5 separate regions of the Homo sapiens genome follow, and all the other regions are linked to region 3. The links are contacts of gene promoters, found by promoter capture Hi-C in blood cells and fetal thymus (Javierre and others, 2016). All regions are on one chromosome and are shown on one strand. The core of a region is centred on a gene start or on the middle of the fragment in contact, and the rest is flanking DNA. Distances in the headings are between cores, read along the strand shown.

Region 1 (2,700 bases), core at 145-2,644, 400 kb after region 3:
ATGAGCCATTGAGCCTGGCCCAAACTTTTTTTTTAACCAAATACTTAAATCTATACTACATAGATCTAATGCTATACAGACATCATTCCATACCAATACATATATATAATCTTCATTTTTGTGTCTAATAAATGCTTCATAATATGGACACTTTATAATTTATTTAACCAACCTCTCTCTGATAACGGACTTTGAGGTTATTTCTAATTTTCCACTTTTGCAAACACTTTATAATGAACATCTAGATTGATTTGAGTTTCTGAATATTTTCATATGTTAAATTAATATTATATATTGCTAAATCCAGAGAAACTGTACCATTAACACTGTTTACTGAAGTCTGTAAGAGAGCATTTTTTACCCACACTTTCACATATACTGGAAACTCTTAAATCTCCATTAACCTGTTTGAGAAAAATTATATTTTGTTTTTATTATTATGTCTTTTTAAAAAATTAGTATTTTTGTTGGGCATCTTTTCAAATGTCAATTTGTGATGTGTATTTCCCCTTTTAATTTTCTTTGTCTGGTCTATTGAGTGTTTCTATTTTTAAAAGTTCATATCAGCCGGGCGTGGTGGCTCACGCCCGTAATCTCAGCACTTTGGGAGGCCGAGGCAGGTGGATCACCAGGTCAGGAGATCGAGACCATCCTGGCTAACACGGTGAAACCCCGTCTCTACTAAAAATGCAAAAAATTAGCCGGATGTGCATGTAGTCCCAGCTATTTGGGAGGTTGAGGCAGGAGAATCGTTTGAACCTGGGAGGCGGAGATTGAAGTGAGCTGAGATTGTGCCACTGTACTCTAGCCTGAGCAACAGAGTGAGACCCCGTCTCCAAAAAATAAAAAATAAAACAGTTTATATTCAGCATCTAGGCTTGGCACATAGTAGACAGTCATTACTAGCTACGTAACTATGTGCCACTTATGCATATTTGCAACATTTTCACAAGTACAGAGAATAATACATTGAACCCCCATATAGGCAACACCCAGATTCCATAACTATCAACACGAGGCCAATCTGGTTCATACCATTCTCACCTACTTCCCACCCTGACCCTGATTAATTTCTTTAGTGTTCTTTGTATGTAGGGATTTAAACTTTGTCATATGGTACAAATATTCCCTGCCCCCCTGCAGTTTCTCATTTGTCTTTCAGTATATTAATATTTTTGTGCCATACTGGTTTTAAACTTTCATATTGTCACATCTGTTAATCTTTTCTATAGGATTTCTGGATTTTGTGTAATTTTTAAAAAGATCCCCTCCTCCCCAACATCAAAGTTTATAAAAATATTGTCTTTGGGCTGGGCGCAGTGGCTTACGACTGTAATCCCAGCACTTTGGGAGGCCGAGGCAGGTGGATTACCTGAGGTCAGGAGTTCAAGACCAGCCTGGCCAACATGGTGAAACCCCCTCCCTCTCTACTAAAAATACAAAAATTAGCTAGGTGGGCCTGGTGGTGGGTGCCTGTAATCCCAGCTACTTGGGAGGCTGAGGCAGGAGAATTGCTTGAACCCAGGAGGCAGAGGTTGCAGTGAGCCGAGATTGCACCATTGCACTCCAGCCTGGATGACAGGGTGAGACTTCATTTAAAAAAAAAAAAAAAAAAAAAGGATTACATGCTTTTAAATGGTCTATTGTTCGATAAAGTTTAATATAAATTTAAAACTTTGTACAGGTACAGTGAGGATAAATTTTTTAAAATTTCCACTAAACTGCAAAAGTGGTTTAACCAACATAAAATTATTCCTGATGAAGGACATAAAATATCTGTAACCAGTTGTTAAAGTGAGAAGGTGGGTTCTAATCAGATGTGCTCAGTTACTTCCATCTTAGCATCTCTGTTGTAAATCCTTGGGCCTCAGTCTTCTTGTTTGAGGCCCAAAGGCATTTATTTGCACATTTGTTCCTATTATCCAGCAGGACTATTTAAGAACATTCTAAAACGGGTCCCAAATTGCTGAAGATTTATCATCCTGCTATTCCAGGGATTGTTGGTAATCTTCATCCTTTCCTAATTAGAAGAGGCCCCTGGGCTGCAACTACAGTCAGCAAGGTGCGTGGGTTAGACCGGAAGAAGGAGCAGGCTAAACTCAGGGCAGCGGAGTCTTCATGCTCATCAGGTTCTCACCTCTTGTCTCCCTCTGCAGGCACATCCTCATCTGCCTTGCTGCCTACCTGGGCTGTGTATGCTTTGCCTACTTTGATGCTGCCTCAGAGATTCCTGAGCAAGGCCCTGTCATCAAGTTCTGGCCCAATGAGAAATGGGCCTTCATTGGTGTCCCCTATGTGTCCCTCCTGTGTGCCAACAAGAAATCATCAGTCAAGATCACGTGATGGCAAGATGGTGGCTGGCTTCTCTGCTTATCGCCCCTCATGCAGTGGGCTTCCTTTGCTAGGAAGACAGCCAAGGGAGTTCGAATAGTTGGGGTGTGGGCTATCTTTTCAAAAATCTATTTGCTGGGGCTCTTAATTTCTTTAGTGTTCTTTGTATGTAGGGATTTAAACTTTGTCATATGGTACAAATATTCCCTGCCCCCCTGCAGTTTCCCATTTGTCTTTCAGTATGTTAATATTTTTGTGCCATACTGGTTTTAAACTTTCATGTTGTCACATCTGTTAATCTTTTCTTTAGGATTTCTGGATTTTGTGTAATTTTTAAAAAGGTCCCCTCCTCCTCCCTAATGTGTCTGT
Region 2 (2,700 bases), core at 175-2,674, 300 kb after region 3:
AGCCAGGCGTGGCAGCGTGCGCCTGTAATCCCAGCTACCTGGGAGGCGGAGGCAGGAGAATCACTTGAACCTGGGAGGCAGAGGTTGCAGTGAGCCGAGATTGTACCACTGCACTCTAGCCTGGGCAACAGAGCGAGACTCCATCTAAAAAAAAAAAAAAGAAAAGAAAAAAAAATTTCAAATGTCCTGAAAGTTGAAAGAATCGTATAATGAACAATCATGTATTTTCCACCTAGATTTAATTAACTATTGTTAACTTTATCTCTTTCTATGTATGCATACATTTTTATACTGAGCCACTTGAAAAACAGTTGCAGACTTTATTCTGTGTCCCCCCTAAATACTTTGGCATGCATTTTCAAAAAACAAGGACATTCCTTACTTAAGGTATTACGATGTATATTCCTTTGTAGGTGAAGTTCCATTTCCAAGAGGCATGAAAGGGCAAGACTTTGAAAAATCAGATCATGGTTCTTCTCAAAATACCAGCATGTCTAGCATCTATCAGAATTGTGCAATGGAGGTAAAAGTTCTATATTCAGTTCATGATAAAGTAGCTGTAAGCATATTTTTATTTCAGAATGGCATTTAACAGGATTCTAAGATACCCTTGTGGACAGTATAATAAAATAAGTCATTTTGTTGAATTTGCTTGATGTCTTATGTAAGTAAGACATTGAACTGGTAGTTTACCTGTGAAATAAAAGAACTGTTATTAATAATTCCAAATTTGATCAGTAGAATAAAAAAAATCCCATTATCTCAAGAGAATTCCTGTTAAGATTAATTTTTATTAAACGTTCTCAGTGTCTGCATTTTTCTGTTTTTAGGTTTTGATGTCCAGTTGTTCACAGTGTAGAGCTTGTGGAGCTTTAGTTTATGATGAAGAAATTATGGCTGGATGGACAGCAGATGACTCAAATTTGAATACAGCTTGTCCATTCTGTAAAAGCAACTTCTTGCCTCTTCTCAATATAGAATTCAAAGATTTGAGAGGTTCTGCAAGGTTAGTCTTATAAAAGCTCTCTCAAGAAGTAAGTACCCTCAAAAAACACGACTTCTGGGAGAAGAGTGAAATATTCCTGGTATGCTCCAGGTCTGCCTTCCTGTCTGTCCTTCACCTTCAGTATTTGAGTAGCAAATACTAGTAATGTGGGAGTCTACTTTTCCATTTTATTTAAAGTAAGATTATCAGCCGGGCTCCGTGGCTCATGCTGTAATCTCAACACTTTGCGAGGCCCAGGTGGGAGGATTGCTTGAGGTCAGGAGTTCAAGACCAGCCTGGGCAACATGGCAAGACCCTGTCTCTACAAAAGATTTTTTAAAATTAGCTGGGCATGGTAGTGTGCACCTGTGGTAGCAGTTACTAGGAAGGCTGACATAGGAGGATCGCGTGAGCCCAGGAGTTTGAAGCTGCAGTGAGTATATATTTTAGAAGAAACAAAGGGGAAAAAAAGGCTTCAACTCTTCTCTTGTCACTTGCACGTCCTAGTAGTATTCTGTGCAGTGAAATGACCAAATTCTAGGCAATAGATATAAGACTAGCTGATCTATAATTATACATAAAATAATTGAGAGTTTGGTGACTCTGTGCTGACCTAGGGAATTATACTTAATATTCCATTCATTTTATGGAACAAATTGAACTTTTTATTTCCTGCCTTTAGCTGCTTTAAAAAAAATACACTGCCAGGTGTGGTGGCTCACACCTTAATCCTAGCACTTTGGGAGGCCCAGACAGGTGGATTGCCTGAGCTCAGGAGTTCGAGACCAGCCTGGGCAACACAGTGAAACCCTGTCTCTACTAAAATACAAAAGATTAGCCAGGTGTGGCGGCGTGCGCCTGTAGTCCCAGGCACCCGGGAGGCTGAGGCAGGAGAATTGCTTGAACCTGGGAGGTGGAGGTTGCAGTGAGCTGAGATTGCACCACTGCACTCCAGTCTGGGTGACAGAGAGAGACTCTGTCTCTGAAAAAACAACAAAAACATTTAGGCTGGGCATGATGGCTCATGCCTGTAATCCCAGTACTTTGGGAGGCCGAGGCAGGCAGATCACTTGAGGTCAGGAGTTCGAGACCAGCCTGGGCAACATGGCAAAACCCCATCTCTACAAAAAAATACAAAAAAGGTTAGCCCGACACCATGGCACATGCCTGTAGTCCCAGCAACCAGGAGGCTGAGGCAGGAAAATGGTTTGAACCCAGGAGGCGAAGGTTGCAGTGAGCTGAAATCACACCATTTAATTGTAGAGGTGTTTCTTCTCTGTTTTTTCTTTTAGCTTCAAGGGTGGAGCTAAGTCAAATCATACTCTTTAATTCCTGACACACTATCATCTTTGGACTGTGCAAGGGCCCTCTCGTGTTTATCCTCCTTTCCTCATTCCCACCCTCATTCCCCTATTCTACGAAGACACTGACTCTGCTAAGTGTGATATATATCTAAATTTACTTCTTTTTATTGCTCTATTTTAAATCTGGGTTACTATATGTACATCTAGTTTATTCCTTTTCTTCTACAGGAAGTTAATATACCTTTCTACTTATCCATTATTCTAGTGTTGGGTACTTCAGTTACTTTCAGTTCTCTGTTACTACAAACACCACGGTAGTAATGCAGTGCACTGCAAAATACATGTCCCCTTTTGGACTTGTGAAGTAGTTTCTCTAAGAAAACGATAATCCTTGGAGTAAGATCATTTTCA
Region 3 (2,700 bases), core at 3-2,502:
AGGGCTTTAGGCCAGGCACGGTGGCTCACGCCTGTAATCCCACACTTTAGGAGGCCGAGGCAGGTGGCTGGCTTGAGTTCCAGACCAGCCTGGCCAACATAGTGAAACCCCGTCTCCACTAAAAATACAAAAATTAGCCGGGCGTGGTGGCAGGTGCCCACAATCCCAGCTATTTGGGGGACTGAGGCAGGAGAATCGCTTGAACTCAGGAGGCGTAGGTTGCAGTGAGCTGAGATCGCGCCACTGCACTCCAGCCTGGGCAACAGAGTGAGACTCCGTCTCAAAAGAAAAAAAAAGGACTTTAAGGTAGATACAGAGGCTTCAGTATCCTGATGACTCTCATTCATTCTGTATGAACGATACTGGCGACACTGATTCACTCATCTACTTGAAGACCAAGAGCAGAATCATATTATGCTTTGAGAGGGGCACAGGGTAGCCTATTGTTAGGCAAATAGACCGCAGCAAGATTGTCTAAAACCAAATTCCATTTCATCATTTAGTATCTGTGTAACTTGGTCAAGTGACTTAACCTCTCTAACCTTTGATTCCCTAACTTGAAAATAGGGTTATTAATTCACAGGGTTACTGTGAGGATGGAACTAATGCCTGGGATTCCACATTATCATTTCCTCGAGCTTTGGAATTCTAATTATAAATTCTAAAGTCTGAGATTACGGAAAAGCAGATGTGAGAAAGGAATTAAAAGCACCCACTGGAAGCCAGGATGTCTCCTAGGAGGGACTTGCTATTACCTAGCTGCGCAGCAACAGGCAATCGCTTGCCTACAAGTCTCACTTTCCGCGCCTGCACAGTCTCCATCTGCCCTGCCCTTGTACTCACTGGGCCGGGCAAGCTGGGGAGGCCTAAGCGGACTGGGAAGTTAGGCTTTCCCTCCACTTCACCAGTCGGCTGCCCCTGCGGAAACCGGCCCGACACACCTCGCTCCTAAAGCCAGTTGCGGTGGTGGTGGCGGTTGGGGCTTTTTTTGGCCACGAGAGGGCAGCATTTCCCCCGGCCAACCACACACGTACCCCTAGCAACAGCAAACCCAGCTGCAACAGAACAAAAGACCGAAGTCCTCGAGCTTCCCTTCCATCTTAGGGCTCACGCCGCCCCGGTTAGGTTTCATTAGAGCAGCGGCTTTTCAAGGCTCGTCGGGCACGGAGGGCGGAGCGAGGGAGCTCTCGCGAGATCGCCGCCGGAAGTGGGTGGTGGCGGGGACGCAGCGGCTCCCTCCCGGAAAGCGAGCGTATCTCCCGAGCCGTTGCCACTGACAGCCGCGGGCGCTCCCATCTGAGTAAGAGCCAGCCCGTCCGCGGCCTCTCCAGCCCCGGGTTCGCGCTCTCGACTCTCCTGCCTGCCCAGCTGCGCGGCGGAGCGGAGCGAGGCGCGGCCTGCGAGTCCCCGGCAGCCCCCGACCCCTCCCTCGGCGCTGCGTGTAGGCCGCGCCCTCAGGCCCAGTCCGCGGTGCCCCGGCGGGTGATGCCAAATACAGCCATGAAGAAAAAGGTGCTGCTGATGGGGAAGAGCGGGTCGGGGAAGACCAGCATGAGGTCGATAATCTTCGCCAATTACATTGCTCGCGACACCCGGCGCCTGGGGGCCACCATTGACGTGGAACACTCCCACGTCCGATTCCTAGGGAACCTGGTGCTGAACCTGTGGGACTGTGGCGGTCAGGACACCTTCATGGAAAATTACTTCACCAGCCAGCGAGACAATATCTTCCGTAACGTGGAAGTTTTGATTTACGTGTTTGACGTGGAGAGCCGCGAACTGGAAAAGGACATGCATTATTACCAGTCGTGTCTGGAGGCCATCCTCCAGAACTCTCCTGACGCCAAAATCTTCTGCCTGGTGCACAAAATGGATCTGGTTCAGGAGGATCAGCGTGACCTGATTTTTAAAGAGCGAGAGGAAGACCTGAGGCGTCTGTCTCGCCCGCTGGAGTGTGCTTGTTTTCGAACGTCCATCTGGGATGAGACGCTCTACAAAGCCTGGTCCAGCATCGTCTACCAGCTGATTCCCAACGTTCAGCAGCTGGAGATGAACCTCAGGAATTTTGCCCAAATCATTGAGGCCGATGAAGTTCTGCTGTTCGAAAGAGCTACATTCTTGGTTATTTCCCACTACCAGTGCAAAGAGCAGCGCGACGTCCACCGGTTTGAGAAGATCAGCAACATCATCAAACAGTTCAAGCTGAGCTGCAGTAAATTGGCCGCTTCCTTCCAGAGCATGGAAGTTAGGAATTCCAACTTCGCTGCTTTCATCGACATCTTCACCTCAAATACGTACGTGATGGTGGTCATGTCAGATCCGTCGATCCCTTCTGCGGCCACTCTGATCAACATTCGCAATGCCCGGAAACACTTTGAGAAGCTGGAGAGAGTGGATGGCCCCAAGCACAGTCTCCTTATGCGTTGAATATTGCCAAATGCTCTTTCTGAAAATGCTGAATTGCCTTTTTTGTTTGCATCCTTTATTTTTAATATTCATAATGTCGTGTGCTTAAAAGTGGGCTTTGAAGTGTGTGCTGCTTACTCCTTTCATCTTTCTCCCCGCTTCCCCAGTCTTTAAACATTGGACGCTATTTACTCAGCTACCCAGTAGAGCTTGAAGCTGACCTTTCTGAGAAGTTGGTATGGTGTAACACTAAAGTAGGTGGTTCGTGTGTGTTCTCATTACCTGGTTATGATA
Region 4 (2,700 bases), core at 25-2,524, 380 kb after region 3:
TGAGATGAAGTCTTGCTCTGTCACCCAGGCTAGAGAGCGGTGGTGCGATCTTGGCTGACTACAACCTCTGCCTCCTGGGTTCAAATGATTCTCCTGCCTCAGCCTCCCAAGTAGCTAGAATTACAGGCACTTGCCACCATGCCCAGCTAATTTTTGTATTTTTAGTAGAGACAGGGTTTCACCAGGTTGGCCAGGCTGGTCTCGAACTCCTGACCTCATGATCCGCTCGCCTCGGCCTCCCAAAGTGCTGGGATTACAGGCATGAGCCACTGTGCCTGGCCTGAATTTTTTATTGATATGTAATAGTTGTACATATTTTATGTAGGGAAATTATTAATGTTCATTATGTCAATAGGATATAAATGTTGGGTTTATAGAAAAAAACTTTCTTTCATCTTGCCTAAAATGTCCTGAGACTCTTTAGGACATATACTGAATTGCTGATGGTTATTAATAATTTTTAGAGTTTTTATTTTAAGAAAAAAATGAGAACAAGGAACTATTATAGGCTAATTGTATCTACTTTTTTTGTTTTGTTTTTTGGAGACAGGATCTCACTCTGTTGCCCAGGCTGGAGTGCAGTGGCACAGTCATGGCTCACTGCAACCTCTGCTTCCTGCGCTCAAGTGATCCTCCTACCTCAGCCTTCCAAGTGGCTGGGACCACAGCTGCCTGTCACTGCACCTGGCTAATTTTTGTATTTTTTGTAGAGACAAGGTTTTACCATGTTGCCCAGGCTGGTCTCAAACTCCTGGGCTCAAGAGATACTCCCACCTTGGCCTCCCAAAGTTCTGGGATAACAGGCATGAGCCACTGTGCCCAACCTTGTATCCACTTCTTAAATAATTTATTCTGCTATAGTTTTTATGATTTTATCTTTAGATAAAATCCACTTTATTTTTTGAATCTTGAATAGCAAGGGAGCAGTCTGGGATCTGCCCGCCCTGCTAGCATTCTTCCTGGATGAGTTGAGGCTGGAATCTTAAACTCTCTGGGCCTTAGTGCTTTAGTTATAAAATAACAGGGTTGAAGTAGCTCTCTGAGGTCCGTTTCATGACCAAATGCTATATTGCTGTAACTATCAAGGGCTGGCTGTTCTAAATAGATTATGTTTTGGTAGCTTATAGCAGTGGATCTTAACCAGGGACATTTCCAGTTCTTATGAGACATTTATAAAGCTTGTGGACATGTTTTTGGTGGTCATTACGATGGGAGGTTTTATCATCTATAAATTTCATTTCATTTCAGAAATGAAATGAAATTATCACTGCTTTAAAGAGTAGCCAATGATAGTGGTTTTCAAGCCTATACCCTGTGTCCCTTTTTACTGTGTAAAAAAGCCAATGATAGTGGTTTTCAAGTCTGAAAACAAAGCTTTACTTTGGTTAAAAGGGACACAGGCTATAGGCTTGAAAACCACTACTTTAAAGGGTAGTAAATGATAACAGTAACAGCTTTACTATAAAAATATTTTGATGATGGTACTGGGTTGTTAGATTTTGGATTAGAGAATACAGGAAGCAGTGATGCTAAGGGTTTCCTGACCTTGTGTTTCAGTGTGAGACCCTAATGGGCTGGAAAGTTGAAAACAGGACCAGAGGCTGTCATCAATCACAGTTTAGAAAAACACCCTGTTGGGGCCTCTTACTCCTGGATATTTCTAGCTCTCTTGTACCCAGGGCCTCTGTTGACTCTGGGGTCTGCTGGGCTGGCTGACTGGTTTTCTGCTGGCCACATAGCCTCTGTTTACTTCTCCCGGCTGCTTGTGTTCACAGGATGTCCTTGTTGGCCAGCACATTCCTGTACACCTTCTGGACTTGACGTGGGGAGGCATCTGCAGATGGCCTCCCTAAAGAAAGCATGTTTTGCAGCTGGGTGCAGTAGCTCATGCCTGTAATCTCAGCACTTTGGGAGGCTGAGGCAGGTGGATCACCTGAGGTCAGGAGTTTGAGACTAGCCTGGCCAGCATGGTGAAACCCCATCTCTACTAAAAATACATAAATTAGCTTAGGGTGGTGGCAGGTGCCTGTAATCCCAGCTACTCCGGAGGCTGAGGCAGGAGAATCGCTTGAACCCAGGAGGCAGAGGTTTCAGTGAGCTGAGATCGCACCACTGCTCTCCAGCCTGGGTGACAGAGTGAGACTCTGTCTCAAAAAAAACAAAAAAACAAAAAACCCAACAAAACCAAACAACAACAACAACAAAAACCCATGTTTTTTTCAAGCTTACTGCCTTTAAACCATTTGGCAGTACTCTGTGGAGCCTTTGGTGATTGCAACAGCAGCTCAGTTACGTTTTCCCTGAGAGTATGATATCAACAACAATAATATTATTTAAAGTGGTATTTATATTTAAAATGATGGTAAGGATAACAGTAATAATGAATTTTATTAGTACATAATATGTACTGGGCACTGTGTTAATGCTTACAAAAACACTGTGAGGCAGAGTGTCTTAATTTTTATGTGGGAAAGGCTCAAAGAGTTGAGTTACTTGCCAAAGGTCTCACAGCTACTAAGCAATGGAGGCAGGATTTGAATGCATATCGGTCTCACTGGAACACCTATGCCTTGAATCACTCTGTTACCCTCTCTGACCTGTGCGTAATTCTTAAACCGCTGGGTACAGAGAGGTGATGCACTTTGGGTACAGAGAGGTGACGCACTCTGGACATTTCTGATTATGTGTTTATCCTAATGA
Region 5 (2,700 bases), core at 118-2,617, 270 kb after region 3:
GAAGCATGGATCTACTAATTAGGAAGTTGTCACATTGGTTCTAGGGATTATTAGAGGTGACCTGGATTAATTGATGATAGTGTGAATAGAAGAGTGATTTTTTTAGGAATTAGATTGAGTAGAACCTGGTGATTGAATATGGAATGTAAGGTAGAGTGGGAGATATCAAGAGCACCTTTGAGGTTTTTGCCTTTAACAACCAAGTGAATGGCCATGCCCTTTATAAGAAGTAAAACAACAGAAAAAAGGGAAGGAGCAGATCGAAGGTTTTTTTTTTTGTTTTGTTTTGTTTTGTTTTTGTTTTTGTTTTTTAGATGGAAAAAAGAGACTTGAGTATGCTGATGAGAAATAGCTAATAGAGGCCAGACGCAGTGGCTCACGCCTGTAATCCCAGCATTTTGGGAGGCTGAGGCAGGTGGATCACTTGAGGTCAGGAGTTTGAGATCAGCCTGGCAAACATGGCGAAACCCTGTCTCTACTAAAAATACAAAAATTAGCGCATGCCTGTAGTCCCAGCTACTCAGGAGGCTGAGGCAGGAGAATCACTCGAACCTGGGAGGTGGAGGTTGTAGTGAGCCGAGATCACGCCACTGAACGCCAGCCTGGGTAATAGAGTGAGACTCCATCTCAAAAAAAAAAAAAAAAAAAGAGAAATAGCTAATAGAGAGGGAGATTTATCCTGAGAACACTGGAAGGGGCTGGAATCCTGAAGTCATGTGATGGTTTGTCCTTAGATAGGAGGAGGGACATATCCACTGTAAAAAGGCAGAAGGAATAAAGGATAGCTGTTAAAGAGTCATAAATTATGTAGTGAGATAGTGTACATAGTTTCTATTTAATGATCTGCATTTTCATTGCACTGAAGTATGCTCATTTCGGGGTGCGGAGGGGGCACAAAAAACATGAAGGGAGAGCGCATACAAATTGGAAATAGTTGTGAAAACATGTGAAGAGGAAAATTAAATTGATTCCAGAAATGTAGTAGGGTTGTTGGTGAGGGATGAAGGTATAAGTGCTTCTGATCTGCCTAGTTGTGGAACTTTTTTTCCCCTTAACTTGTGCTCAGCCACCCTAATGCAGATCCAGAGAAGGCAAGTAGTACATTCCTCCAGAGCTGGGTTATGCTAGGTAGGTTTAACCAAAAAGACAAAAGAGCAGAGGGGTTGAGAGTATTGACAAAACAGTAATTGAAATGATGGATATAGCATGGAATCAGTATTGGACGGAGAAAGAAGTGAAGATGGGAGGATGTACATAGAAGTAAAAGGGCCAGTGGAGGCCAGGCGCGGTGGCTCAGGCCTGTAATCCCCGCACTTTCGGAGGCCGAGGTGGGCGGATCACGAGGTCAGGAGATGGAGACCATCCTGGCTAACACAGTGAAAAATTAGCCAGGCGTGGTGGCGGGCGCCTGTAGTCCCAGCTTCTCAGGAGGCTGAGGCAGGAGAATGGCATGAACCCGGGAGGCAGAGCTTGCAGTGAGCCAAGATTGACTGCACTCCAGCCTGGGCAATACAGTGAGACTTCATCTCAAAAAAAAAAAAAAAAAAAATAAGGGGGCCAGTGGATTGGAGATTTCCATGAGCCTTCCCTCTCTGCTCCCTGCACAAAAAACCCAAAAAACCCTAAAACACTTAGTAGAAATACTTAATTAAGGAGACCAGATAGGCAGAGCTAATGGGCTGGGAGTGATGTGAAAAAGAGATTTGAGAGGCAATGTTGTTTTGAATGCTGGCAAGGAAAGTCAAGGGACTGTGACTGTGTGTTGAAGTTGGTGATTGAGGTAGGATGGAGCATAGGATCACTGAAAATCAAGGAATGAAGGCTGGGCATGATGGCTCATGCCTGTAATTCTAGCACTTTGGGAGGCTGAGATGGGAGGATCACTTGAGGCCAGGAATTCGAGACCAGCCTTGTCAACATAGCAAGACACCCATCTCTTAAAAGAAAAGAGGCTAGGTGCAGTGGCTCACGCCTGTAATCCCAGAACTTTGGGAGGCCAAGGCGGGCTGATCACCTGAGGTCCGTTCAAGACCAGCCTGGCCAACATGGTGAAACCGTCTCTACTAAAAATACAAAAATTAGCCAGTCGTGGTGATGGGCACCTGTAATCCCAGCTACTCAGGAGGCTGAGGCAGGAGAATCACTTAAACCTGGGAGGCAGAGGTTGCAGTGAGCCAAGATCACATTACTGCACTCCAGCCTGGGCGACAGAGCTAGACTCTGTCTGGAAAAAAAAAAAAAAAGGAATGAAGAAGAATCTAAAGTGTTTTCATGGTTTGTGCTTCTGGGTGTGGAAGAATGATGGTGGTAGGAATTAGAAAGGAGGAGACCTTGAATCAGATGCCTTGGTCTTCAGTGAATGAAGGAGTGTCCCTGAAATCAATAGATGTCTACGATTAATAGAGGAAATTGTGGAATAGTCAGATGCTTGAAACTTTAATGAGCAGAAATTTTAAAAACACAATACAGAAATAATGGTCTTGCAACATTAAAGAGGAAGGACATTGACTCTTTGGAAATTGACCATGGACTCAAGAGTATGCAGAGTATCAGAGAAATTTCTACTTAAAAGTTGTAGAGCTGGAGGTTCCTTATAGGGGATTTAGATTTCAGTGAAGAGTTTGATAGAAGTATTTTTCGTGGTTTAATTAGGCAGAAGGAGCTATATATGCAGTTACCACAGGTTGAGCTTCCCTAATC

Evidence for each region. Contacts are between HindIII fragments. The CHiCAGO score rates a contact against its expected background, and 5 or more counts as called.
Region 1: a contact is called between a fragment that was not itself captured here and the fragment with the promoter of RRAGA in region 3, in 11 of 17 cell types (activated CD4 T cells, non-activated CD4 T cells, total CD4 T cells and 8 more). The highest score is 11.0, in activated CD4 T cells.
Region 2: a contact is called between a fragment that was not itself captured here and the fragment with the promoter of RRAGA in region 3, in 6 of 17 cell types (total B cells, naive CD4 T cells, activated CD4 T cells and 3 more). The highest score is 7.2, in total B cells.
Region 4: a contact is called between a fragment that was not itself captured here and the fragment with the promoter of RRAGA in region 3, in 12 of 17 cell types (naive B cells, total B cells, total CD8 T cells and 9 more). The highest score is 12.7, in naive B cells.
Region 5: a contact is called between a fragment that was not itself captured here and the fragment with the promoter of RRAGA in region 3, in 6 of 17 cell types (M0 macrophages, non-activated CD4 T cells, naive CD8 T cells and 3 more). The highest score is 6.7, in M0 macrophages.

What each region holds. Positions count from the first base shown.
Region 1 is chr9:19,448,294-19,450,993 of GRCh38, forward strand. ACER2 (alkaline ceramidase 2) reads left to right here. Exons shown (of 6, transcript NM_001010887.3): 6 at 2,157-2,700. The coding sequence ends at 2,343. Among named protein-coding and RNA genes, the nearest start is that of MAP1LC3BP1, 14 kb to the right of the region's middle. The HindIII fragment of the contact is 9,286 bases long and covers 1-2,700 here.
Region 2 is chr9:19,351,660-19,354,359 of GRCh38, forward strand. DENND4C (DENN domain containing 4C) reads left to right here. Exons shown (of 33, transcript NM_001330640.2): 25 at 414-523; 26 at 831-1,006. Among named protein-coding and RNA genes, the nearest start is that of RPS6, 27 kb to the right of the region's middle. The HindIII fragment of the contact is 5,968 bases long and covers 1-2,700 here.
Region 3 is chr9:19,048,175-19,050,874 of GRCh38, forward strand. It overlaps RRAGA (Ras related GTP binding A), which reads left to right and starts at 1,253. Exons shown (of 1, transcript NM_006570.5): 1 at 1,253-2,700. The coding sequence starts at 1,486. The coding sequence ends at 2,427. It also overlaps a transcript of SAXO1 not described here. RefSeq lists an enhancer at 1,193-1,714 and a silencer at 1,322-1,511. The HindIII fragment of the contact is 15,757 bases long and covers 1-2,700 here.
Region 4 is chr9:19,428,807-19,431,506 of GRCh38, forward strand. The region is part of intron 3 of ACER2 (alkaline ceramidase 2); the gene reads left to right. Among named protein-coding and RNA genes, the nearest start is that of ACER2, 21 kb to the left of the region's middle. The HindIII fragment of the contact is 196 bases long and covers 1,177-1,372 here.
Region 5 is chr9:19,321,203-19,323,902 of GRCh38, forward strand. The region is part of intron 12 of DENND4C (DENN domain containing 4C); the gene reads left to right. Among named protein-coding and RNA genes, the nearest start is that of RPS6, 58 kb to the right of the region's middle. The HindIII fragment of the contact is 3,316 bases long and covers 1-2,700 here.